Regions from separate parts of the Homo sapiens genome. Here region 1 is linked to region 2. Evidence: promoter capture Hi-C in human tissues and cell types (Jung and others, 2019). All regions are on one chromosome and are shown on one strand. The core of a region is centred on a gene start or on the middle of the fragment in contact, and the rest is flanking DNA. Distances in the headings are between cores, read along the strand shown.

The links. The method cuts DNA at HindIII sites, captures the fragments that hold promoters and counts their contacts. A contact is called where the count stands out against the background at its distance.
Region 1: a fragment that was not itself captured here is called in contact with the fragment with the promoter of ZFYVE27 in region 2 in 1 of the 25 tissues and cell types used here (adrenal gland).

Annotation. Positions count from the first base shown.
Region 1 is chr10:97,773,096-97,780,268 of GRCh38, reverse strand. No RefSeq gene overlaps it. Among named protein-coding and RNA genes, the nearest start is that of SFRP5, 4.7 kb to the right of the region's middle. RefSeq lists an enhancer at 5,143-5,437. The HindIII fragment of the contact is 7,465 bases long and covers 1-6,078 here.
Region 2 is chr10:97,731,282-97,738,380 of GRCh38, reverse strand. ZFYVE27 (zinc finger FYVE-type containing 27) reads right to left here and starts at 1,253. Exons shown (of 13, transcript NM_001385875.1): 1 at 1,060-1,253. RefSeq lists silencers at 988-1,057, 6,275-6,569 and an enhancer at 1,388-1,537. The HindIII fragment of the contact is 10,455 bases long and covers 1-5,223 here.

The DNA.
Region 1 (7,173 bases), core at 1,097-3,596, 41 kb before region 2:
TGCCAGTTTGGGTCAGTGTTCAACAGAGTGGCATTACCCCCAGTCACTTCTCATATCCACAGGAGGAAGTCCTGGGTTCAAGTCCTGACTCTGCTGCTTCTTGGCTGTGTGACTCTGGGCAAGTTGCTGACCCTCTCTGAACCTCAATTTTCTCATATAACATGGGGATAATAATGCCTCCCTCACAGTACTATCCGGATGATGAAATGAAATAATATACGGGAGAGCAGGGAACATAATACCAAGCACCTAGGAGGCCCTAAACAAGTATTCATGAAAGGAAGGAGAAAGAGAGGTCGACCCACACTTAGGGAGCATGTCCATCACTCCCCAGTCGGCAGCAAGCACCGCAACTGACGTATCACTCCACTCCACTCGGTCCTCACCAGCTCCCTGCTAGAATTTTCCTGATCTTCCTTGGGCCTCTCAAGAACTCCAACAGGTCCTGAAAAAGGTTCTGGGCTCCCGCCTGAGCCCATCTGGCTCCAAAGATTCCTTCCTTCTACTACTTCCTCCCACCAACTATTCATCCATCCGTTCAGTCATTCATTCACCACACATTTATGGAGCACCCATTATGTGATTGACAGGGGTCTGGGAGCAACTGAGATGAACAAGATGAGGGCATACCCTTGTGGATCTCTCAGTCCAGTGAGAAGCCAGGACGTTGATAAAATAAACACAGTTATATAATGACCAGTGTCATTATATATGCAAAGGGAGCTTCACGCTTCCAGACAGTGCCCAGCAAGGGGACCTGGCCTTGGGTAAGAGCTTTACCCAGAGCCTGGGTAAGAACTTTACCCGAAGAACAGTAAGAGCCACTGAGGGGCTTGAGCTGAAGGGTGAGACCATCAGGTTTGCAGTTTGAAATGATCTTGTTGGCTCTTGCAGAGTGGAAAACTGAGACTGCAGAGGGAGCAGGGAGGATGTGCGGAGAGCAAAAGGAGGGAGAATGCTGGGGGATATCAGAGAAACTGGGAGTGAAGAGCTACAGGATTTGGCGATGGTCTCTAAAGACCACTGTCATGCCCACATTCAATAATATTAACTAACAATTATACAGTGCTTACTGTTCACTGTCCTAAACAATTTTTAAAATTAACTCTAACCTCAACAATTCTCTAAGAAATTATTGTTATTAATATCCCCATTTTACAGATGAGGAAACTGGAGCACAAAGAGGTTAAATAACTTGCCCAAGGTCATGTGGCATTGCTAAAATCAGAACCCAGTCTGGCCCCAGAGTTCACGCTCTTAACCAAAACATTAGACAGCCTCTCCAATGTGCTTCTAACCAGTGTTGCCAACTGGCCACAGCCCAGGGACTCCAGGTGCGCTGGGAACCCAGGCAGAAGAGGAGAGCAGTATTCAGCCTTCTCTCCATCCATAGCCCCAACTAGAGAATGCCAGCAGTGCTCATCCCATCCCACCTGCCTTCATGCTTCAGACGGGCACACTTTGAGCTGGACTCAGCCCCCAGGCCCAAGAGAAGCCTCGCCTCTGCTTTTGTTCCTCAAGCCATGTGAGATCAGGACAAGTCGGAGAGCCTCTCAGTGGCTAGGCTCATGGAAGGGAGGACCGAGGCTGGCCCCCCTCGTCAGTTGATTCAGTTGCCAGTAAGTCTCGCTCAAGCCCCTCTGTAACCAGCCTACCCAGCGATGCTGAGCAGGCCTGCCTGAACTGCCAACCAGAGCACAGGCTGCTCAGCAGGGAGGCCCTGCACAGCTGGGGGCCTCTGGGACAGACTTTGCAACCGACAAAAGCTAAAATGCAGGAAAGTAAAACAACTGGAGGTATGGTAGGAAGAGCTCTAGACTGCGGGCTCAGGAAGGCCAATTTTTAGTTTCCTTTTATAGAAAATGGTGGGGGACCAGGAGGGTGATGCCTGGGGACAGTAGGTGCCTGCCAGCACTGATAGTTTCATTAATTAGACCACTCACCCCAGTTTTTTAATGGGCACTTAATGGCAGCTGCTATGAAGACACCACCCTAGCAGAGGAGCACTGGGATTGTAAAAGGCAGACAACTGGCCGGGCGCGGTGGCTCACACCTGTAATCCCAGCACTTCGGGAGGCCGAGGTGGGCGGATCATGAGGTCAAGAGATCAAGACCATCCTGGCCAACATGGTGAAACCCCGTCTCTACTAAAAATACAAAAATTAGTTGGGCGTGGTGGCACGCGCCTGTAGTCCCAGCTACTCAGGAGGCTGAGGCAGGAGGATCGCTTGAACCCAGGAGGCAGAGGTTGCGGTGAGCCGAGATCGAGTCACTGCACTCCAGTCTGGTAACATAGCGAAACTCCATCTCAAAAAGGAAAAAAAAAAAAAGGCAGACAATTCCAGGAGTCTGAAATAATGACAAGACCCTGTCTTACCACTTCAGTCATCCCAGCCCTCCTGGGGGCCCAAGCAAGCCTGTCCTGGCAAGGCCTCCTCATAGCCCGGGACAGGGGAGGCAACAGCGAACCTGGGGGCCTCCTTCCATTCCTCAGCCCCACCTCCATCATCATCCCAAGCCCCTTCCATTATCTCACTGGATCCTCAAGATAAACCCACAGAGAATGCAGGGCAATGTGGTCCCCGCCACCGCACAGATGAGGCAACTGAGACTCAGGGTCTCAGTAAATTAAAAGGTAATTAAATTACTTTTGCTAGTAAATTAAAAAGGTGTAACTCAGGATCTTTTGAATCCCAGCTTGGTGTACTCCCCACTGCCCCACACTGCCTCTCCTGGGGGCCTTGTCAGGAGGCATAAACAGGGCAGATCTCCTGGCTGGCGGATCTGCTGCAGCACTGACCACAGAGCTACTACACAGGGCACTCTGCAGGGTGCTGCTGTCACTCATTATCTCAGGAAGCCTTCAGCAACCAGCACTACCAGTACATAGATGCTATTAACTCTATTTTACAGATAAAGAAACTGAGGTTCAAGGTCCAACATACACAGGCCCAAGGACACACCACTAGGAAGTGCTCAGAATTCAGCACAGGTCAGTCTGACTCCAAAGCCTAGACTATGCCTGCCGCACCACATACGCTGCCTTCCCGTGCCTGTGTACTCCACACCAACAAGGACCAAGTCTCTTTCACATCCATACCTGGCCCATAGCAGGTTCTATTTAAGTGTTGGTTCATGAAATCATTATTCTTAAGGCCTAAGGCATTAAAAGAAACAAAAAAGGATATTTCATACAGATAGAAGTTACAATTCAACCAGAAGCTATAATAATCATGAAGCTTTTATACACCTGACAACATAGCATTAAGGTATATAAAGCAAAAATTGATTTTAAAAAAAGGAAAAATTGCCAAACCCATATGCACAATAGATTTCATACACCTCTATCAGAAATGCACAGATTAAGTAGCCCAGCAGTTCTCAAACATTTTGGTCTCAGAACCTCCTTGCACTCTTAAAAATTGAGACCCCAGGCTGGGCACGGTGGCTCACACCTGTAATCCCAGCAGTTTGGGAGGCTGAGGTGGGTGGATCACCTGAGGTCAGGAGTTTGAGACCAGCCTGGCCAACCAACATGGTGAAATCCTGTCTCTACTAAAAATACAAAAATTAGCCGGACATGGTGGCATGCACCTGTAATCCCAGCTACTCGGGAGGCTGAAGTGGGAGAATCACTTGAACCCAGGAGGCAGAGGTTGCAGTGAGCTGAGACTGCGCCACTACACTCCAGCCTGGGTGACAGAGCGAGACTCCTTCTCAAAAAAGAAAAAAATTGAGAATCCCAAAGAGATTTTGTTTACGTGGGTTTATACCTATCATTATTCACCATATTTGGAATTAATAATGAGGAAAAAGTTAAATGCATTAATGCTTTAAAATAATAAATGTTTATATGTTAATATAAATTTTTATGAAAAATAATTGTATTTTTCAAAACAAAAAATAATTTTAGTGAGAAGAGTGACATTGTTTTACATTTTTGCAAATCTCTTTAATGTCTGGCTTAACAGAAGCCAGCAGATTCTCATATATGCTTCCGCATTCAGTCTGTTGCCATATGTTGTTTTGGTTGAAGTATATGAAGAAAATTTGGCCTCACACATAAATGTAGTTGGAAAAGGGAGGAGTATTTTGATGGCCTTTTCAGTTAATTGTGAGTATGCTTCTTTGATACTACCCCAAAGACTGACATGTGTAGTTTCTTTCTTTTTTTTTTTCTTGAGACAGGGTGTCGCTCTGTCACCCAGGCTGGAGTGCAGTGGCGTGATCTTGGCTCACTGCAACCTCCACTGCCTCCCCTCAACAAACCCCACTCCCCAACCCCCACTCAAGTGTCGATCCTCCCACCTCAGGCTCCTGAATAGCTGGGACCACAGGCACACACCACCATGCCTGGATATTTTTTTGTATTTTTAGTAGAAACAGAGTCTCACCATGTTGCCCAGGCTGGTCTCAAAACTCCTGGGCTCAAGCAACCCACCCACCTCGGTCTCCCAAAGTGCTGGGAATACAGGCATGAGCCACCGCGCCTGGCCTGACATGTGTAGTTTCTTAAATGTAATGCAGAATCTGAAACCATATCAATAAGCTTCTCTTACCCAATTACCTTAAAATCCATTGGACTATCTTGTACCTTGAATGGGCATTTGAATTATGTACAGTTTTGACCCTGTATACCCCTCCGGAAAGAGTCTCGGGGTCCCCCTGGGGAACACTGACCATACTTTGAGAACCATTGAAATAGACAATAAAAGAGTGAAAAAATGTAGAATTTGATAACATAATTAGCAAGTTTGATCTAAGAGGTATTTATATAGAACTTTGCTCACAACAAACTACGAATACACATTTTTTTGAACAAATGGTCCCCTTTATCAGCTGGGGGAAAGGTCTGGACAGGCTGTGGATGCTCCAAGATGGACAGATGCCCGGCACAGTGCCCAGGTGTTCCACCTGCTGCTTAGGCCCTGGTTCGGCCTCAGCAAGAAGGGGCACTACATCAGAGAGCAGCCTTCTCCTGCCCAGGCTGCAGAACCAGGTCAAATGGCCACAGAGAGAGAGCTCCCCTGACAACAGCCCCATGGTGCAGCCCTCACCTCGGCTTGGTTCCTGTCAAGTTTCCCTCCTTGCATTCACCCTGTCCCGTGTCAGGGGCCCCCGGGGGTCCCCACGACAGAGCTGCCAGGTAAAGAGTGTCCATGCTCCTCTTCCAGGAGGCTTTCAGCCAGTCCCCTCTGCCCGTTACAGCCCTCGGAGCTGTCAGGTGTGGACTCACAGCTCTCTGATCATGCGCAGTTCTTACATAACCACCAGTAGAAACAAAGCCCTGCTCTGTCCAGGCCAGGTACTGGGACGCCAAGAACAGCACAGCCGACCAGCTGCCCAAGGAGGCAGCACTTTGCACAACCACCTGGGAGGCTCTAACACACCGTCAGTGCCCAAGGCCATACCTTCCCTGGAGGGCAGGAGCCTGCCAAGCCTGGAGGGGTGGGAGAGTCAGGGTGCAGGGGCAGAACTGCTGTTCAGAGCCCCAAACCAGAGCCAGAACCAAGGCATCCAAGGGCTTTCAGAACACACACCACTTTCTTTCTTTTTTTTTTTTTTTTTTTGAGACGGAGTCTTGCTCTGTCTCCCAGGCTGGAGTGCAGTGGCATGATCTCAGCTCACTGCAACCTCCTCCTCCTGGGTTCAAGCAATTTTCCTGCCTCAGCCTCCTGAGTAGCTGGGATTACAGGCACGCACCACCACGCCCGGCTAAGTTTTGTATTTTTAGTAGAGACAGGATTTCACCATGTTGGCCAGGCTGGTCTCAAACTCCTGACCTCAGGTGATCTGCCCACCTCGGCCTCCCAAAGTGCTGGGATTACAGGCATGAGCCACCATGCCCAGCCACCACTTTCTTTTTTTAAGAGACAGGGTCTTGCTCTGTTGCCCAGGCTGGAGTGCAATGGTGCAATCACAGCTCACTGTAACCTCGAACTCCTGAACTCAAGCAGTTCTCCCACCTCAGCCTCCAGAGTAGCTGGGATTGCAGGCGCATGCCACCATACCCAGTTAACTTTTCTAATTTTTGTAGAGATGGAGTCTTGCTGTGTTGCCCAGGCTGGTCTCAAACTCCAGGGCTCAAGCGATCCTCTCACCTCAGCCTCCCAAAGTGCTGGGATTTACGGGCGAGAACAACTGCACCCAGCCCATACAGCACATTTTTACCTCAAAGTCACACGTCCCTTGGGGATCTAACATTCCTAGGTGTTCATTCTGTGTGTTGGCACTGTGCAGGGGGCTTTCTTTCCATTCACCTTATTTGCTTCTCACAGTAACTGCTGAAGAAATTCCATTTTACAAAGAAGGAAATGAGGTTAAGTACTTGCCCAAGGTCATACAGCTAATATGTGGCCAGGATCTGAACCTGGCTCCATCGTCTGCAGAGCCCAGGCTCTCGCACCATTGCTACACTGCACTGCCTGGCCCTGCAGAGACCAGTCCTTCACCTTCTGAGTGGCCATCTGCATAACCTCTTCATGCTGGGGGCTGGGAGAGGGAGAGGGGAAAAGAAGGCCAAAGTTTACTCTACCTGGACCCCACTAGGTCATCCTGGACATCAAACACGGCTTGTCCCACCCTTGGGGCTCAGTGAGATGAGGCTTCTCCTGCCTCCTCTGCCTGCCTTGTATCTTTTTCTTACAACTAGATCAGAAGGAACAGAGCCATGTCTTTTGCACCTCTGTGTCCCCATGCATACCCTACCCCATGCCTTGCAGATAGTAGGTACTCTATGCATTTTCTGTGAATATTAAGGAGTGGCCCCTCACCCCTCTCCACTACCACTGCAAGGACAGACCCAGAGGAAGACAGGAGCCCTGGAAACATCCATTAGTGGGACTAAGGGGAGGAGCAGAGGGGGAAAGTGCCCAGTACTCCTGCCTTCCAGCAGAGCCAGCCCCCAGCTCCCCACGCCCTCCTAGGAGACACCTCCCCAAGGTACCCTCCCCACCAAAGACTGGGAGGTCAGGTGTCAGGCTAGGCTCTCAGGAAGGAATTCCCCTCCCTTCAAGCCTCCAGTCCAAATTCCTCTCAAGGGAGAGCCAATGAAAGGCAGGACTCAGACAGGAGAGAAAGACACCAAGCATGGGGCTCCTGAAGGTCCCCTCCCCTCTGATGCTTGCCTGGGTGCCCTGCTCAGACACACCATCAATTCCCCCTCTTCCCACT
Region 2 (7,099 bases), core at 4-2,503:
GCAAGGGAAAGTGAACTATTCAGACCTAAAATCCTGTTCTTTGTACTCTCCATCCAATGCTCTTTTCCCCAAAGATCCATCAAAACTAAAAATCATAAAAACCAAGCATAAATGATCGCTGCAGCGAGGCAGCCCATGGGCTGAAATGAAATGATGTCCTGGAACATTTTTCTCCCACTCTTTACCTGGTTAATTCCTACTCATCCTTCAGGTATCAGCTTAAACATCACTCCCTTACTCTGGGAAGTCTCTGCCAACACCCCCAACTCTGGACTGGGAGACCCTCTCCGATGCTCCCAAAGGATCACGTACTCACCCTAACAGAGCACTTATCACATCACATCGCTTCTTGGCCTTGTGGCTAAGATCAAGTGCAGAGCACTGACCACGTCAAAGTAAAACTCCCTGCTCTTAACTGGCCTCCATTCACGACTGCTTCTGTACACAGTGGGTGCTTAACAAATGCCTGCTGAATGAGTGAATGAAATACCGTGCTCCAGGACTCTCGCCCGATCCTCTAACTCTTCCCACTCCCTTCGGTTCCCAACAACTTCCTGGGCCATCTCTGCCCCAGGGCAGTCGGCATCAGAACGCCCCATTCCCGTCTGCCCTTTCTGATGAGGAAACCGAGGAGCCTTTACGGTCTTTCCCAGTTCAAAGTCCTATCCTGAACTCTAAGCAGCAAACGAGGGGGCGGAACCTCGGCGAAGAGCAACATAAACCAGTCCCAGGCAATCAGCCGCGACCTGATGGGAGGGTGAGGGGATGGGACAAAGGGGCCAACGGGACCCCGAAATCCCCGCAGGCCGAGCCAAGGCGAAAGGGCACAGAGCGGCGCCAGGTATGAGCCCAGGAAGGGGCGAGGTATATCGACGCCCGCACTGGCCTTGGCCAACACCTCTGCAGCCAGGGGGGCCTGATGGAGCCCGTGAGGCTGGACAGGGAAGGCCATGCCCGAGGTCGTGGGGCCAGCATGTGGCGGCCCCCGCTGCGCCCAAGCACCCAACTACACACAGCCTGCGGAGACACTGGGACGCGGGGGGACGGCACCTCACCTACCCGGCCGCTGGCTCCGTGAGGGAGGCGGCAGGGTCGGGCAGGAGCAGGGGTAGAGCCACTGGGCCCCGGAGCGTTTCTTCAGGCCTCCCCCGGCTGAACGCCGCTCCTCCTGCCAGGGTTGTTCGGAAGTCGCAGGTCCGAAAATCTCCTCCGCCTACGCCGCGGCCGCCACCGCCGCTTCCGGGACGCGAATCGCTCTGCGGCTGCGTCCTCATGACGTCATCCCGCTCCGGGTTTAGCTCCGCCCACCCCAGCACAGGCAAGCACCCTTGCCAGCAGTGCGCCTGCGCGTCTTTCCCGCGCGCTCCAGGCTGGAGTTAATTCTGTCCTTGGCCGGCCGCCGTTCACAAAGCCTTGAGGACCCTTGGAAGCACGTGCTTGGCGACCCTGCAGCTCGTTGCCCTGCCTTGCCGCAGGGAACAGTTGGCGAGAGGCTTAAATGAAGAATTTACGTCTTCATCCTCTTTCCTTCCAACTTTGGAACTGAACTGGGGACTGTGTGTGAGCCCCGGAAAGACACCGTATCCTGTATGAGATGCCCAGCAGAGCATGCAGTTGTTTCCGGAGTAGCTAGTGTGTACAAGGTCCTGTGCAGGCCTCTCCCAGCTCAGTTCACTTCACACCGTGTGGCCCAGTTAATTTCCCTTAAAGCACACATCCGATGGCTTTATATTAGTGACTTAGCGCTCAGGTACAGAGGAGCCAAGCACTGAACCGGACTGAGCTCTTTTTAGACATTATCTAGTTCTCCTCCAACGACCCTATTAGGGTTGTCGCCATTTTACAGATGGGGAATCTCAGACGTGTTAAGGAACTTCTTTAGAGTCACAGCTAAGAAGCAAATGGGAGCTGGAATTTGAAGCTTATGTGTCATCTGACCCCAACGCCCCAACCATACCACCACCCACCTTGGTCTGCATTTCCTGGTCTTGTCTCCTGCCATCTTTCAGCTGCCTTTAACTTTGGCCAACTGAACCCCTCCACTGTTACCCTCAAATGCCCCTGGCACTCAAATGTCTGTATCCCTTCCTTGAGTGCCCCAGCTGGAAGTAATCACTTCCCTCTTCAAGTAGCCACAGAGCTTTAACTGCATCTCTTCCTCCATTATCTCCTTTCAGAAAGACAGGCCCATCCCTCCAGCCAGGACTTAGCTGTGCTCCAGGGTCCAACTCTTATTTCCTTAGGGCTTTGCTCTAACAGGCCTGAAATCTTGACTCTCGCTAACTCTTAATCATCATTCTAGAGACAAAATTCATGGAAAATTTCTCCTTTAGCCTAACTTTACCCCCTCTTTCCTACATGAGTTGGAAGACTCACTGTGAAGTGCTCTCTACCGCTGCTTCCTCGCCCAATTCACTCCTCACTGCACTGTGGTCCTGCTCCCCTCCATATTTCTGGGCTACCTGCCTGCTCACCTGTGACATCCTGGCTGCTAAATCCAATGGACACTTCCCAGTCCTCCTTGCAGATGACCTCAGAAGCACTGGAATCTCTTTCCTTTTTGGCACCATTGTCCACCTTAGCTTCCATGACACCACCCTCTCCTCTCTTTCCGACCTTCAAGGTCTCCTTAGGGCTTTTCTTCCTACCCCTCAAATGCTGGGGCTCCTTTTGCTACCCTTCTTTCTTCTGACTCAAGGCACTCCGTGAGGATCTCATTCACTCTTGTGGCTTCTGTCAGCTAATGTTTCGTTTCCCGTGTCTATGTCTCCAGCACCTAAAGCAGTACCTGGCACATAGTAGGCATTCTGTTAAGAAGGGTTGCAAGATGTTACCATTGGGGGGTAGTCTGTGGGATCACCCTGTGTTAGTTCTTATAACTATGTATAAATTGACGATTGTCCCAAAAGTAAATGCTTACCCTGTGTAGGTATTTTTCTCAAAGCTCCCTGCTTTAGTTGACTTTGTCAATTACCCGGCATGCGCCAGTCCCAACATAAGTAAGGTAGGAGGGCTTCTCCTCAGATGAATTGCTTGGTTGGTTTTTCCAGCTGTAAAATGGGGATAACCATAGTGGTACCCTCAGTGTGGGGCTGTGATGAGAATTAAATGAGCTAAAGTATGTAAATTCCTGACATGTTATAAGTGTTCAAAAATCGTTAGCAATCATTGTGATTTTTATTTTTACTCAAAGCCCTACCACCACCACCCCTAGCCCAAAAATCAGACAAGAATCCACGAAAGGCCAAAATGTAGAAAGATCCAATTCCCACACATATCACTAAGCCATATACAGAAATCCACTCACCACCCCTTAGAGAAATGGACTGAGCTTTGTGGTGGTCCAGGCCCATCTGCTGGACTCTGCCTCTCCTCCCTTAGGATGGGTCTTTTCCCCGAAAGCTCCTGGGTCTGTCATGCAGATAGCCTCTGAAGGCCCCTCTTCTTCGTTTCCTAACCTGGCCTCAGGTCTGAATTCCAGGATAGGCCATCGCCACTCCCCACCCACTCCCATCCCCCACCCTGTCCACCCCTCTGTACCTTTCTCAGACCACTCTCTTGGTGGATAGTTTCAGTGGCCCCCTGTGACCTCCAGGATAAAACCAAAGCCTGGTGTATTCAACTCTGGCAGTTCTCGGATATGTCACACCTTCTCCCATTACTGTACCTTTCTACAGACTACTCTCACCTTTTTTTTTTTTTTTTTTTTGAGATAGAGTTTTGCTCTTGTTGCGCAGGCTGGAGTGCAATGGAGAAATCTTGGCTCACTGCAACTTTTGCCTCCCAGGTTCAAGCGATTCTTCCGCCTCAGCCTCCTAAGTAGCTGGAATTACAGGCATGCACCACCATGCCTGGCTAATTTTTTGTATTTAGTAGAGATGGGGTTTCACCATGTTGGCTAGACTGGTCTCAAACTCCTTACCTCAGGTGATCCACCTGCCTCGACCTCCCAAAGCGCTGGGATTACAGACGTGAGCCACTGCGCCCCATATTCTTTAGTTGGCCAGCTCTTATTCTTCCTCCAAAATTCAGCTCAGATCTCACCCCTGAAGAAAGACTTCTCTGACACCTTCCCCATCAGCAGCCACTGTCTGGATTACGTGCCCTTCTGACTTGGCTCCGTGGGCCTGCCCCACCCCAGCACTTGGTGCCTCCTCCTCTCTCTAGACAGTGAGAGTCCTGAGGGAACTGCCTATAATTTCTGTGTCCAGCATCTAGCACAAAGGAGGTACCAACAAATGTTCCTTGAATGAGCGCATGCGTGTCAGTTTCCTCTTGGAGCACAGAATTCACATCTCTTTCAACAAAAGCCCCAGAACAATGCCCATTTCTTTTTTCTTTTTCTTATCTTTCTTTCCTTTTTTAATGTAATTTTATTTTATTTTTGAGATAGGGTCTTCTGCTGCTGCCCAGGCTGCAGTGCAATGGTGCAATCATAGCTCACTCTAATTCCTGGGCTCAAACAATCCTCCTGCCTCAGCCTCCAGAGGAGCTGGGACTACAGGTGCACACCACTAACACCTAGCTACTTAATTTTTATTTTTATTTTTTTTTGAAACGGAGTCTCACTCTGTCATCAGGCTGGAGTGCAGTGGCACGATCTTGGCTCACTGCAAGCTCCGCCTCCCGGATTCAAGCGATTCTCCTGCCTCAGCCTCCCGAGTAGCTGGGACTACAGGTGCACACCACCACGCCCAGCTAATTTTTGTATTTTTAGTAGAGACGGGGTTTCACCATGTTGGCCAGGATGGTCTCGATCTCTTGAGCTCGTGATCTGCCTGCCTCAGCCTCCCAAAGTGCTGGGATTACAGGTGTGAGCTACCGTGCCTGGCCAATTTTTTTTTTTTTTTTTTTTTTGTAGAATGAGGTGTTGCTATGTTGCCCAGGCTGGTCATGAATCATTTCTTAAAACAATGACTGTGAAACCAGCAAGAATGAACTGGACAGAAATTCTACCCTCTATGAACTCTTAGTTCAACAGAAGACGCTGACTTGACTGAGCCATGATATAAAGCAGGGGATTCTACTGTAACCGTAGGAGCAGAGAGAAGAGGCAGACTTAATCTAAGTGAGAGGATGGGGAAAGTTTTGTGTTCAACAATGTAGTATTTAAGCTAAGGAGTCCCCACCCTTCTTAAGAAAAATAAATTTTTTTCTTTAATAACCTAAGTACCGGTCAGGCACAGTGGCTCACACGTGTAATCCCAGCACTTTGAGAGGCTGAGGCGGGCAGATCACCTGAGGTCAAGAGTTTGAGACCAGCCTGGCCAACAAGGTGAAACCCCGTCTCTACTAAAAATATAAAAATCAGGCCGGGCGCGGTGGCTCACGCCTGTAATCCCAGCACTTTGGGAGGCCAAGGTGGGCAGATCATAAGGTCAAGAGATCGAGACCATTCTGGCTAACACGGTGAAACCTGGGCTCTACTAAAAATACAAAAAAATTAGCCGGGCATGGTGGTGGGCGTCTGTAGTCCCAGCTAGTGGGGAGGCTGAAACAGGAGAATGGTGTGAACCCAGGAGGCGGAGATTGCAGTGAGCCGAGATCATGCCACTGCACTCCAGCCTGGGCGACAGAGCTAGACTCCGTCTCAAAATAAATAAATAAATAAATATAAAAATTAGCCGGGTGTGGTGGCGCGTGCCTGTAATTCCAGCTACTTAGGAGGCTGAGACAGAAGAATTGCTTGAACCCAGGAGGCGGGGGTTGCAGTGAGCGGAGATCGTGCCACTGCACTCCAGCCTGGGCGACAGAGCAAGACTCTGTCTCGAAAAAATAATAATAATATATATATCCTAAGTGCCTGAAATTCTCACACTGGTAATTTACTCCAAAGGTAAATTTTAGTTTCTTTGCAATTCCTCCTCCTTGGCCTCAGTCTGACAGTGGAGAGTAATAGTATTTGTTTTCTCTTCCAGCAGCTATAGAATTGAGAGATATTATTCAAGAATTTCTAGACATTATCTGGAGGGAACATTGGAGGATACAAGAAGGCTTTAAAAACCAGAAAGGGACAATAGTCGTGGCCTGTAGCGATGAATAAAGGCCTCCCCTTATAATTAAGAGACGGACCAGCTTGACTGTGCTCTCTCGAGTCTAATTCTGATTTTTCCATAATCAAGTTCTAGTTCCTTCTTTCCCTCCTGCAGCATTCTGCCTCAACTCCTGGTGCTGCTGATGTTTTCCCCTTGGTAGCAGACAGGTAGAAGAGACTAAGGGAGAAAATTAAATAATCACTGAAGATAATATCTTACCTTGACATTTTGCAGAGGTTAGTATTTGCTTCAATAAGCAAGTGTGTTTATGGCCCACATACTTGACTCATAAACCTCACTGTGGCCCTTGGAGAAATACTAGGTGGAAATGCTGAGGAGAACAGGCTGGAGAAATCAGGGAAGAGAGAAGGGAATGTCTAAGCATGCCTCCTCCACCAGATGGCTCCCTTGCCCACTCTTATGGAGAAACATGGCATTTCAGAAGCATCTCTTTCAACTCCAAGTTTCTGGCTTTAACCTCTCGTGCCAGCCTCAATGCATTTCTCGCCATTTCCACACTATGCCAGATATTTTCATGCTTCTAGCTGCATTAGTTATCTCTTGCTGTGTAATGAAGTATTTCAAAACTTAATTACTTAAAACAACAATAAGCATGTATTATCTCACAGTTTTTTGGGTTCTGGGTGTTTTTAGTCAGAAAATCAAGAGCAGCTTGGTGATGGTTTTGGCTCAGGCGCTTTCATAAGGTTGCAGTCACATGTTGGTCAAGGCTGCAATCATCTGAAGGCTTAGTGGGGCTGGAGGATCGGCTCCCAGGGTGGCTTCCTCACACAGCTGACAAGGTGATGCTGGCACTCTCCAATAGTGACAAGATGGCAGAAGGTGCCAGGTCCTCCCTCGGGGCTCTCCTGAACGCTTCTTGAGTGTCCTCCTGACATGGCGGATGCCTTAACCCAGAACAAGAGATCCACCAGGGAGCCAGGAAGGAAGCCAAAAGTCTCTTCTGATGCATCCTCAGAAATCACACGCCGTTTTCTTTTTTTCTTTTTTTTTTCTTTTTGTTGTTGTTGTTGTTGAAATGGAGTATAACTCTGTCGCCCAGG